Linked DNA regions of Homo sapiens: regions 1 and 2 are each linked to region 3. Evidence: promoter capture Hi-C in 16 types of primary human blood cells and fetal thymus (Javierre and others, 2016). All regions are on one chromosome and are shown on one strand. Each heading gives the region's core, a stretch centred on a gene start or on the middle of the fragment in contact. The rest is flanking DNA. Distances are from core to core; before and after follow the strand shown. Region 1 overlaps BIRC6 (baculoviral IAP repeat containing 6). Region 2 overlaps NLRC4 (NLR family CARD domain containing 4). Region 3 holds the start of BIRC6 (baculoviral IAP repeat containing 6).

Region 1 (3,438 bases), core at 854-3,353, 90 kb before region 3:
ACATCAAATAAAACTGAAAAGGCTACAACAAATACATTTTAAATAGTCTCATAAGCATTAAAATCACACTGAAATGAAATGCATAACAAAAACAAAAAATTAAAGTCACAACCCTTTCAAATATGACTTTAATATACTGGGATTTTCTTCAGAGGGAAAGAGGAAGTTAAGAACTTCTAGGAAACATTTTAATAATTCATATGATAAGTTCTAAGGAATTTTAGTTTTCTAAAGACAAAACATCATGACTATAATCTATTAAGTCAAATGGCAACTTAAATCCAAGATACAACATTCAGAATTTCCTTTAATAAAAGAAATCACTACCTGAAAGGACATCTGATAAATCAATTTCATCTGACTGGACACCAATGCTGCTGTTATAAACATTTTTACAAGAAGAGCCACTCATCTCCAAATCAAAGAGGACTGGATCAAATGGTGAGCTATATAATCCATATCTGAAAAATAAAATAATGCACTAACAATTTTCCTTTCAGCCATCTAATTAACAAATTACCTTTACTTAGTTTTAAAAGCAGTCTGACTAACAGCGCAGAGGGCTCTCCCTCTCCCCTCTCCCCTCTCCCCTCTCCCCTCTCCACGGTCCCCTTCCACGGTCTCCCTCTGATGCCGAGCCGAAGCTGGACTGTACTGCTGCGATCTCGGCTCACTGCAACCTCCCTGCCTGATTCTCCTGCCTCAGCCTGCCGAGTGCCTGCCATTGCAGGCGCGCGTCGCCACGCCTGACTGGTTTTCGGTTTTTTTTGGTGGAGACGGGGTTTTGCTGTGTTGGCCGGGCTGGTCTCCAGCTCCTAACCGCGAGTGATCCGCCAGCCTCGGCCTCCCGAGGTGCCGGGATTGCAGACGGAGTCTCGTTCACTCAGTGCTCAATGGTGCCAAGGCTGGAGTGCAGTGGCGTGATCTCGGCTCGCTACAACCACCTCCCAGCCGCCTGCCTTGGCCTCCCAAAGAGCCGAGATTGCAGCCTCTGCCCGGCCGCCACCCCGTCTGGGAAGTGAGGAGCGTCTCTGCCTGGCCGCCCATCGTCTGGGATATGAGGAGCCCCTCTGCCTGGCTGCCCAGTCTGGAAAGTGAGGAGCGTTTTTGCCCGGCCGCCATCCCATCTAGGAAGCGAGGAGCGCCTATTCCCCGCCGCCATCCCATTTAGGAAGTGAGGAGCGTCTTTGCCCGGCCGCCCATCGTCTGAGAGGTGGGGAGCACCTCTGCCCCGCCGCCCTGTCTGGGATGTGAGGAGCGCCTCTGCCCGGCCGCCCCGTCTGAGAAGTGAGGAAACCCTCTGCCTGGCAACCGCCCCGTCTGAGAAGTGAGGAGCCCCTCCGTCCAGCAGCCACCCCGTCTGGGAAGTGAGGAGCGTCTCCGCCCGGCAGCGACCCCGTCCGGGAGGGAGGTGGGGGGATAGGGGGGCCCGCCCGGCGAGCGGCCCCGTCCGGGAGGTGAGGGGCTCCTATGCCCGGCCGCCCCTACTGGGAAGTGAAGAGCCCCTCTGCCCGGCCAGTCGCCCCGACCAGGAGGGAGGTGGGGGGGGTCAGCCCCCCGCCCGGCCAGCCGCCCAGTCCGGGAGGGGGGAGGGGGGGTCAGCCCCCTGCCCGGCCAGCCGCGCCGTCCGGGAGGGAGGTGGGGGGATCAGCCCCCCGCCTGGCCAGCCGCCCCGTCCGGGAGGTGAGGGGCGCCTCTGCCCGGCCGCCCCTACTGGGAAGTGAGGACCCCTCTGCCCGGCCAGCCGCCCCGTCCGGGAGGGAGGTGGGGGGATCAGCCCCCCGCCCGGCCAGCCGCCCAGTCCGGGAGGGAGGTGGGGGGTCAGCCCCCCGCCCGGCCAGCCGCCCCGTCCGGGAGGGAGGTGGGGGGATCAGCCCCCCGCCCGGCCAGCCGCCCCATCCGGGAGGTGAGGGGCGCTTCTGCCCGGCCGCCCCTACTGGGAAGTGAGGAGCCCCTCTGCCCGGCCACGACCCCGTCTGGGAGGTGTGCCCAGCGGCTCATTGGGGATGGGCCATGATGACAATGGCGGTTTTGTGGAATAGAAAGGCGGGAAGGGTGGGGAAAAAATTGAGAAATCGGATGGTTGCCGGGTCTGTGTGGATAGAGGTAGACATGGGAGACTTTTCATTTTGTTCTGTACTAAGAAAAATTCTCCTGCCTTGGGATCCTGTTGATCTGTGACCTTATCCCCAACCCTGTGCTCTCTGAAACATGTGCTGTGTCCACTCAGGGTTAAATGGATTAAGGGCGGTGCAAGATGTGCTTTGTTAAACAGATGCTTGAAGGCAGCATGCTCGTTAAGAGTCATCACCACTCCCTAATCTTAAGTACCCAGGGACACAAACACTGCGGAAGGCCGCAGGGTCCTCTGCCTAGGAAAACCAGAGACCTTTGTTCACTTGTTTATCTGCTGACCTTCCCTCCACTATTGTCCTATGACCCTGCCAAATCCCCTTCTGCGAGAAACACCCAAGAATGATCAATAAAAAAAAAAAAAAAAAAAAAAAAAAAAAAAAACAGCGCAGAGGGAGATGCTGACTAGATTTGACCCATCAAATTCAGTGAATCTCAACTATGTTCCCTGCAATCTATACTCTAAAAGACACTGTCCAGAGACTCAACAAATGTGATTCCAATAAGCTGGCAACTAAGGTACTAAGACTGCCACCTGCAGATTGAAGCGAGGGGTATCAGGCACCATTCTCTCCCGTGAATCATTACGACATAGCCTCAAGTACAAAGGCTTTGAGTAAAATGTCATCAAAATCAGAACATCTAACCTAGGAAATTATAAAATCACTGCTCTAAATAAAGGAACGCCTTACTTCAAACGTAGACAATCAGGCAAGAACTTAAATCTAACCTTTTGCTATTGCTTAATTCATCACGTTAGAAGTTTTGAAATACAAGTAGCAGGTAGAAGAATACTAGTTATGGGACAATAAGTGACTCACATAATTCCACCTATAAAGTGCACAGAGAAACAGACACATTACATTCTTCTTCCATTAGCAGGGCATACCACTTTTCATTATTAAATAAAATTAGCCCTCTGAATAACCATCATAAGGATTTATCAAACTGTTAAAGAGTAATTTCTGGCCGGGCACGGTGGCTCATGCCTGTAATCCCAGCACTTTGGGAGGCTGAGGCGGGCGGATCAACTGAGGTTGGGAGTTTGCGAACAGCCTGACCAACATGAAGAAACCCCGTCTCTACTAAACATACAAAATTAGCCAGGCCTGTGGTGCATGCCTGTAATCCCAGCTACTCGGGAGGCTGAGGCAGGAGAATCGCTTGAACCCGGGAGATGGAGGTTGTGGTGAGCTGAGATCACACCATTGCACTCCAGCCTGGGCAACAAGAACAAAACTCCATCTCGATAAAAAAAAAAAAGAGTAATTTCTGACAAAACAGAAGAAAGTAAAACCTCAGGCT
Region 2 (3,274 bases), core at 529-3,028, 110 kb after region 3:
AGGAGGTCTCTCTATGTTGCCAAGGCCAGTCTTGAACTCCTGGGCTCAAGTGATCCTCCCCATCAGTCTCGCAAACTGCTAGGATTATATGTATGAGCCACTGCACCCAGCCAGTTTTAGAAGGGTTTTTTTTGTGGGGTTTGCAGAAGGGGGTGTTGTAGATTCCTTGACATTTTTATCATAGACAATCATGTTATCTTCGAAAAGAATGATTTTAAATTCTTCCCTTCCAATCTGTATTCCTTTTATTTATTTTTTTTTTTTGCCTTATTTCACTAACTAGGACTTGTAGTACAATGTTGAATAGTGACATGAATTAACATCTTGCCTTGTTCCTGACCTTAGGGAGAAAGCATTCAGACTTTCACCTTTAAGTATAATGTTAAATGTAGTTTTCTTGTAGGTGTCTTTTATCAAGTTGCTGAGAATTTTTTTTTTTTGGTCATGAATAGGTGTTGGATTGTGCTAAAGATGTTTTCTGTATCCATTTATATGATCATGTCATTTTACATGGATGGATGTTGGATTGTTTTTATTAAATTATTTTTAGATTATTTTTGAGGCAGGGTCTTGTTCTGTCACCCAGGCTGGAGTGCAGTGGCGTGATCATAGCTCACTGTAGCCTTGACTTCCTGGGCTCAACAGATCCACCCACCTCAGCCTCCTGACTAGCTGGGACCATAAGTGTGAACTATCACATCTGGTTAATTTTTAAATTTTTTGTAGAGACGAGTTCTCGCTATGTTGCCCAGGCTGGTCTTGGACTCCTGTGCTCAAGAGATTTTCCCGCCTGGGCCTCCCGAAGTGCTGGGATTACAGGCGTGAGCCACCTAGCCTGGATGTTGGATTATGTCACATGTGTTTTCTGCATCAATTTATGGGATCACGTAGTTTTACTTTTAGACTGCCAATATAATGAATTATATGGATTGATTTCCACATATTGAGCATCCTGCATTCCCTATATGAAGCCCATTTGGAGGTGGTGTAATATTCTTTTTTTTTTTTTTTTTGAGATGGAATCTTGCTGTGTCACCAGGCTGAGTGCAATGATGCGATCTCGGCTCACTGCAACCGCCGCCTCCTGGGTTCAAGCAATTCTCCTGCCTCAGCCTCCCAAGTAGCTGGGACTACAGGCGCGCCACCACGCCCAGCTAATTTTTGTATTTTTAGTAGAGACAGGGTTTCACCATGTTGGCCAGGCTGGTCTCAAACTCCTGACCTTGTGATCCACCTGCCTCGGCCTCCCAAAGTGCTGGGATTACAAGTGTGAGCCACCACGCCTGCCGTAATATTCTTTTATGCATGACTGAATTCCATTTTCTATTTTGTTGAAGATTTTTGATTCTGTATTCATGAATGATATTGGTCTAAAGTTTAATTTTCTTTCTTTCTTTTCGAGATGGGGTCTCACTCTGTCACCAGGGCTGGAGTGCAGTGGTGCGATCTCAGCTCACTGCAACCTCTGCCTCCTGGGTTCAAGCGATTCTCCTGCCTCAGCCTCTGGACTAGCTGGGATTACAGGCGCCTGCCACTACACCCAGCTGATTTTTTGTATTTTTAGTAGAGACGGAGTTTCACCATGTTGGCCAGGCTGGTGTCAAACTCCTGACCTCGTGATTTGCCTGCCTCGCCCTCCCAAAGTGCTGGGATTACAGGTGTGAGCCACCTCGCCCAGCCTCAATTTTCTTTCTTTTCTTTTCCGTCCTTCCCTCCCTCCTTTCTTTCTCTATTCTCTCTCTCTCTCTCTTTCTTTCATTAAAGACATTGTCTCATTCTGTCACCAAGGCTGGAGTGCAGTGGTGTCATCACACTTCATTGCAATCTTGAACTCCTGGGCTCAAGCGATTCTCTTGCCTCAGCCTCCTGAGTAGCCAGGACTACTCACACCTGCCACCACACCTGGGTAATTTAAAAAATATTTTGTAGGGATAGGGTCTGGATATATTGCCCAGGCTGGTCTCAAACTCCTGGCCTCAAGTGATCCTCCTACCTCTGCCCCCCAAAGCACGGGGATTATAGGAGTGAGCCACTGTGCCTGGCCTAAAAGTTTTTCTTCTACGTCTTTTTCTGGTTTTCATATCAAGTTAATGATGGCTTCATAAAATGAGTTGGGAATTATTCTTTGTACTTCTATTTTCTGGAAGTGACTGTGTAGAATTGGTGTTATTTCTTCTTTAAATGTGTGGTAGATATGAAGACAGTTGATAGAAGGAAAAAAATGAAAATGTGTGGCAGAATTTGCAAGTGAACATATCTGTGCCTACAGATGTCTTTTCCGGGAAATTTTAGATAACAAATTCAATTTCTTTAATAGCTATAAGGTTATTCCGGTTACCTACTCCGTATCACATGAGTGTTGGTAGTTTGTGGTTTTCAAAAAATTGGTCAATTTCATATATGTTGTCAAATTTATGTGCATAGATTTGTTTATATTATTCTCTAATTGTCCTTTTAATATCTGCAGTGTGTGTAGTGATATCCCCTTTTTTGTTTCTGATATTGGTAATTTTTGTCTTCTTTTTCTTTGTCAGTCTTGGTAGAAATTTTTAAATTTTATTGATCTTTTCAAAGATCCAACTTTTAGCTTCATTGATTTTTTTCTATTGTTTACCTGTTTATAATTTTGATTTCTGGGCTGGGCATGGTGGCTCACGCCTGTAATCCTAGCACTTTGGGAGGCTGAGGCCAAAGGATCACTTGTGCTCAGGAGTCCGAGACCAGCCTGGGCAACATAGTGAGACCTTGCCTCTGTTTTTAATTTGTATAATAAAGGCATAATAACTTTGATTTGCACCCTTATCTTTATTATTTTCTTTCTTCTTTCATTTATTTTGCTCTCTTTTCTGTAATTTCTTAAGTAGTATGCCTAGGTTGTTGATTTGAGGCCTTTCCTCATTTCTAATATAAGTATGCAATACTGTAAATGTCCCTGTAAGCACTGTGTTAGCTGCAGATTTTTTTTTCTTTTCACCCCTTTGTGAGGAGAGAGCTGCAGATTTTGAAGTTTTGTTTTTATTTTTATATTTTTCAAAATATTATCAAAGTTTCCATGAGACTTCTTCTTTAATGCATGATTATTTAAAAATGTGTTGTTTAATTTCCAAGTGTTTAGAAATTTCCCTGTTATCGGCCAGGCGCAGTGGCTCACGCCTGTAATCCCAGCACTTCGGGAGGCCGAGGCAGGCGGATCACGAGGTCAGGAGATTGAGACCATCCTGGCTAACATGGTGAAACCCCGTCTCTACTAAAAATACAAAAAAAATTAGCCGGG
Region 3 (3,514 bases), core at 902-3,401:
AGTGTAGACATATATGAAAAGGATAAAATCAAATTAAAGATAACGTTTATGAAGAGGGAGGATTGGAGAAATGCAGTCCAGGAGAGATTCAGCTGAGATTTTAATCCTATTTGTAAAGTTTTATTTCTTAACCTGAGTTGGGGATGCATGGTGTTCACTGTAATTACTCTTCATACCTTTTCATACTTGAAATACTTTTAAATGACTTTTAAAAAGAAAGACATCCAATTACCAATGAGCATCTCCCTCTTACACACAGTGAGAAGCCATTATGTCCAAGTTGCAGTAACTGTTCACTGCTACATCTGGGCCACCCCATCATTTACCTAAGCCAAGAAAAGAAAAAATTACAAACCTACCTCCCAAAACTTTCTCTTAGATATGTTCCAAGTTTATATCCTGAAACTATACATAATCCAATTCTTTCACAACTCTCACATCAACAATAATTAACATGTCTAATTTCACGTTTGCATCCCTAAATTGCCATTTACTCTTACAAATGCCTTATTACTCACATAGTAAACTTTTCCTTGTTCGTCTACGTTAAAATACAAGTGAATTGGTTGACCACATAACTACTTCCACTTGGCTAAACGCAGACAGTTGTATACATTACATCTCTATGCAGGAGTCCGATTCACTCATACACTAACTTTTCAATCTAAACCTACAACATCCAAATTAAGCCACCCATCATTTAACCACAAATGAAATGTCATCTCCGCCAAATCTAACTCAGCCAGGGCCATTCCAAAACCACTCCAGTCCGTCCACTGAGCATACACCTCACGCATCTGAAAGTCCCGTCCCTGGACCAAGGTTTACGCCACCCAGAAGTGCTCTCCTCCAATGGTGAGACTCAGACACACCTTCAAATCCTAATTTTCGGCTCGCTGTGGGAAAACAAGTAGAGACAGCCTGAAGTTACAAACCCAAAGGAATCTATTTCATACACCACAGGTCCTGACTTTCTCGTCACTGGGGCGTAGAAGTTGGAAGCCCCGAGCAAGGGGACCAGGTCTAGTCGTCTTCGGCGTCCGCAGAGTCCTACAGTCGTCGACCAAGCAGTTCAGGCAGCTGGCCCGCCTACTTCCCTCCCCACCCCCACCACGACCCACCCCACCCCCACCCCACCCCCACCCCCACGCTGGGCGCACAGCCCGCGGTCTGTCCCCCGCACTGCGGGACCTGAGAACAGCAGACTGCCGGCTCCTCTCCCACAAGGGAGGGCTTGGTTGCCGGCTCAGACGCTCCCCGCCCCTCGCCTCCGGCCACCAGCCTCTCCGCCCGGGGTCAACCCTTCCAGCCTTTCGCTCTCATCTAACCGGACGCAGGACCGACAGCCTCTCCAGGGCCTACCCGGGCCTCGCTTCCTCCGGTGCCAAGCTCCAAGGTCTCCTCACCTCTCGCGGAGGACCAAGCCAGACCGGACGCTCCAGGCCCGAAAGGCAACTCCCCTCCCACCACTCCCTGACTCGCCGGTCTTTCCTCCCAACTGCAGCCGCTGAAAAAGCCAAGTCCTAAGGTCCCCCTCCATCAGCTTCCGGGCCTCCCTTCACGGCTGGGCCCGAACCCCCAGCCCTGCCCTCTCGCCATCTCGCTTCCCCGAGTCGCGAGGCCGAGCCCCGGGGCTGGACGGCTTCTTTCCCCGGCTTCGCGCCCGCCCGGCGTGCGGAAGACTCACCACTGAGCGCGGAGGCCTGCAGTGTGGCCCCCGAGGTGCCGTCGATGACTTTGATGGTCCCGCGGCTAGTGACGGCCAGGATGGCGTTGAGCGCAGGGTGGTAGGACAGGCTGTGCAGCCCGTCGGCGTCGCAGTGCATGCAGCCGTCCCGCAGCACCAGCCACTCTGAGACCCCGGCCGCCCCCGCCCCCGCCGCCGAGGAGCAGCCGGGGCCCGAGGCCGCCGCAGCCGCAGCCGCCATCTTCCGGCCTGCGCTCAGCACAATCACACTGGGAAGCGGCTCAGTGACAGTCCCGGGAGGTGCAGCACCACCACCAGTCACCATCCGGGGCCAGGGGGCAAGCCGAGCGCGTTAGCCGGAAGTGAAGTCAGGCGCCCGCACGCACGCGGAACGTCGATCGCCCGGCCGGAGGGGCCAAACTCGGAGGGAGGCTGACGGGAGAGGGGGAGAAGCAGGGAGGGAGGCGGGGCCCGGGGCGCGGGCTGGAGGCCGGCGGGTGGAGCATGCGCGGGAGGGCTCGCGCGTGCCACGCGCCGCGGGTCTGGCCAGTTCCGCGTCCGCAGCGTCCCAGTTTCTTCCTGTGAGCCTGGGGAGTGGCGGCTGCCGAGTCCGCCCCGCTCCTCGCGGGGGCAGGGGGAGGGGTTGGCCTCCGTGCATTTCCGCTAGGTGGGGACCCCCGCCCTTGCGACCTGTCCGGTACGCCCGGAGGCCTTTTGCAGCGGTTCCAGCTGCGCCTTGACCGTTCCCGGTACGCACGGTGCAGCTGTTCGGCCGTGGCCGGAAGCGGACCTCTGGGTCTCGGTCACGGCTCTGGTGTGAGAATAAACAATCAGAAGCCTCTCGTTTGGATTGGAAGGAACCGAGCGACCTTCCCAAACCTGTACCTTTTACCACGCCTGCCCTCCCCATTCCCAAGGCTTTCTGTTGAACAGAAGTACCAGATACGAGGTGCTGGAAGCGCATAGTTAAGCTTAGTTTCTCTATCCACATTCCAAACAACCCGAGTTACCGGAATTAATAGGAGTGTGGGTCTGTGTGAGTGTGTGGTGGGGTGTGTTGGAGGTCTAGAAAGGACTAATCAATTTACTAATCATCCCCCCTTGGAGAATTTTTTTAAAACTTTTTATTTTGAAATAGATTACAGTTGAAAATATACTACAGACCTCTGTGGTCTTTCTCTCCAAAAGCCATAACCCCTATCTAACTATGAGAAAACCATTTGACAAACCCAAACTGTAGGACATTATTTTTATAAAATACCTAAACACTACTCAAAGATAGTACAGAGAGATCCAATTTACTCTTTACCCAGTTTCCCCCAATGGTTGCATATTACATAATTCTAGTACAATCTCAAAAGGAGGGATTTGATAGTTGTATGATGTGTGTATAGTTCAATGTCATTTTATCACATGTAGACCTACGCACCATAGTCAAGATGCAGAGTTGTATGTTCTATATGTTTTGTGATCATTAGGTTATTTTGGAAAGAACTAGTTTTCCTTAAAAACCTAATCAAAGATCTGTTGTGAGGATTAAGAATCATTTGTAAAATGTGTAGAAGAGCATCTGACAAGTATATACTACGTGCTCAATAAAAATTATAAAAGTTAATTGCCCTCTCACATTCATGCGAACTTCCTTCAGGAAATCTTCATGGATTACCTGAACTACATCTTAAACTATTAGCCATCAGGCTACATCTGAAACACTTAGAGATTTGACTGTATTCCTCTCTTCTTGGGGGTCCCTAAAATACACTGAAGTTCCTGGGCCTGCCAGAGAGTGACATTCCTTACTCATCTGTGGTTCTTTTTTTTTTTTTT

The links. The method cuts DNA at HindIII sites, captures the fragments that hold promoters and counts their contacts. A CHiCAGO score of 5 or more calls a contact.
Region 1: a fragment that was not itself captured here is called in contact with the fragment with the promoter of BIRC6 in region 3 in 1 of 17 cell types (M2 macrophages); the score reaches 5.1 in M2 macrophages.
Region 2: a contact is called between a fragment that was not itself captured here and the fragment with the promoter of BIRC6 in region 3, in 2 of 17 cell types (neutrophils and M2 macrophages). The highest score is 6.3, in neutrophils.

Annotation. Positions count from the first base shown.
Region 1 is chr2:32,445,818-32,449,255 of GRCh38, reverse strand. It overlaps BIRC6 (baculoviral IAP repeat containing 6), which reads right to left. Exons shown (of 74, transcript NM_016252.4): 22 at 328-461. Among named protein-coding and RNA genes, the nearest start is that of MIR558, 85 kb to the left of the region's middle. RefSeq lists an enhancer at 1,414-1,991. The HindIII fragment of the contact is 4,466 bases long and covers 1-3,438 here.
Region 2 is chr2:32,241,535-32,244,808 of GRCh38, reverse strand. The region is part of intron 4 of NLRC4 (NLR family CARD domain containing 4); the gene reads left to right. Among named protein-coding and RNA genes, the nearest start is that of NLRC4, 22 kb to the left of the region's middle. The HindIII fragment of the contact is 8,504 bases long and covers 1-3,274 here.
Region 3 is chr2:32,355,660-32,359,173 of GRCh38, reverse strand. It overlaps BIRC6 (baculoviral IAP repeat containing 6), which reads right to left and starts at 2,151. Exons shown (of 74, transcript NM_016252.4): 1 at 1,688-2,151. The coding sequence starts at 2,012. RefSeq lists enhancers at 941-1,453, 1,968-2,480 and silencers at 1,705-1,934, 2,095-2,464. The HindIII fragment of the contact is 6,861 bases long and covers 1-2,660 here.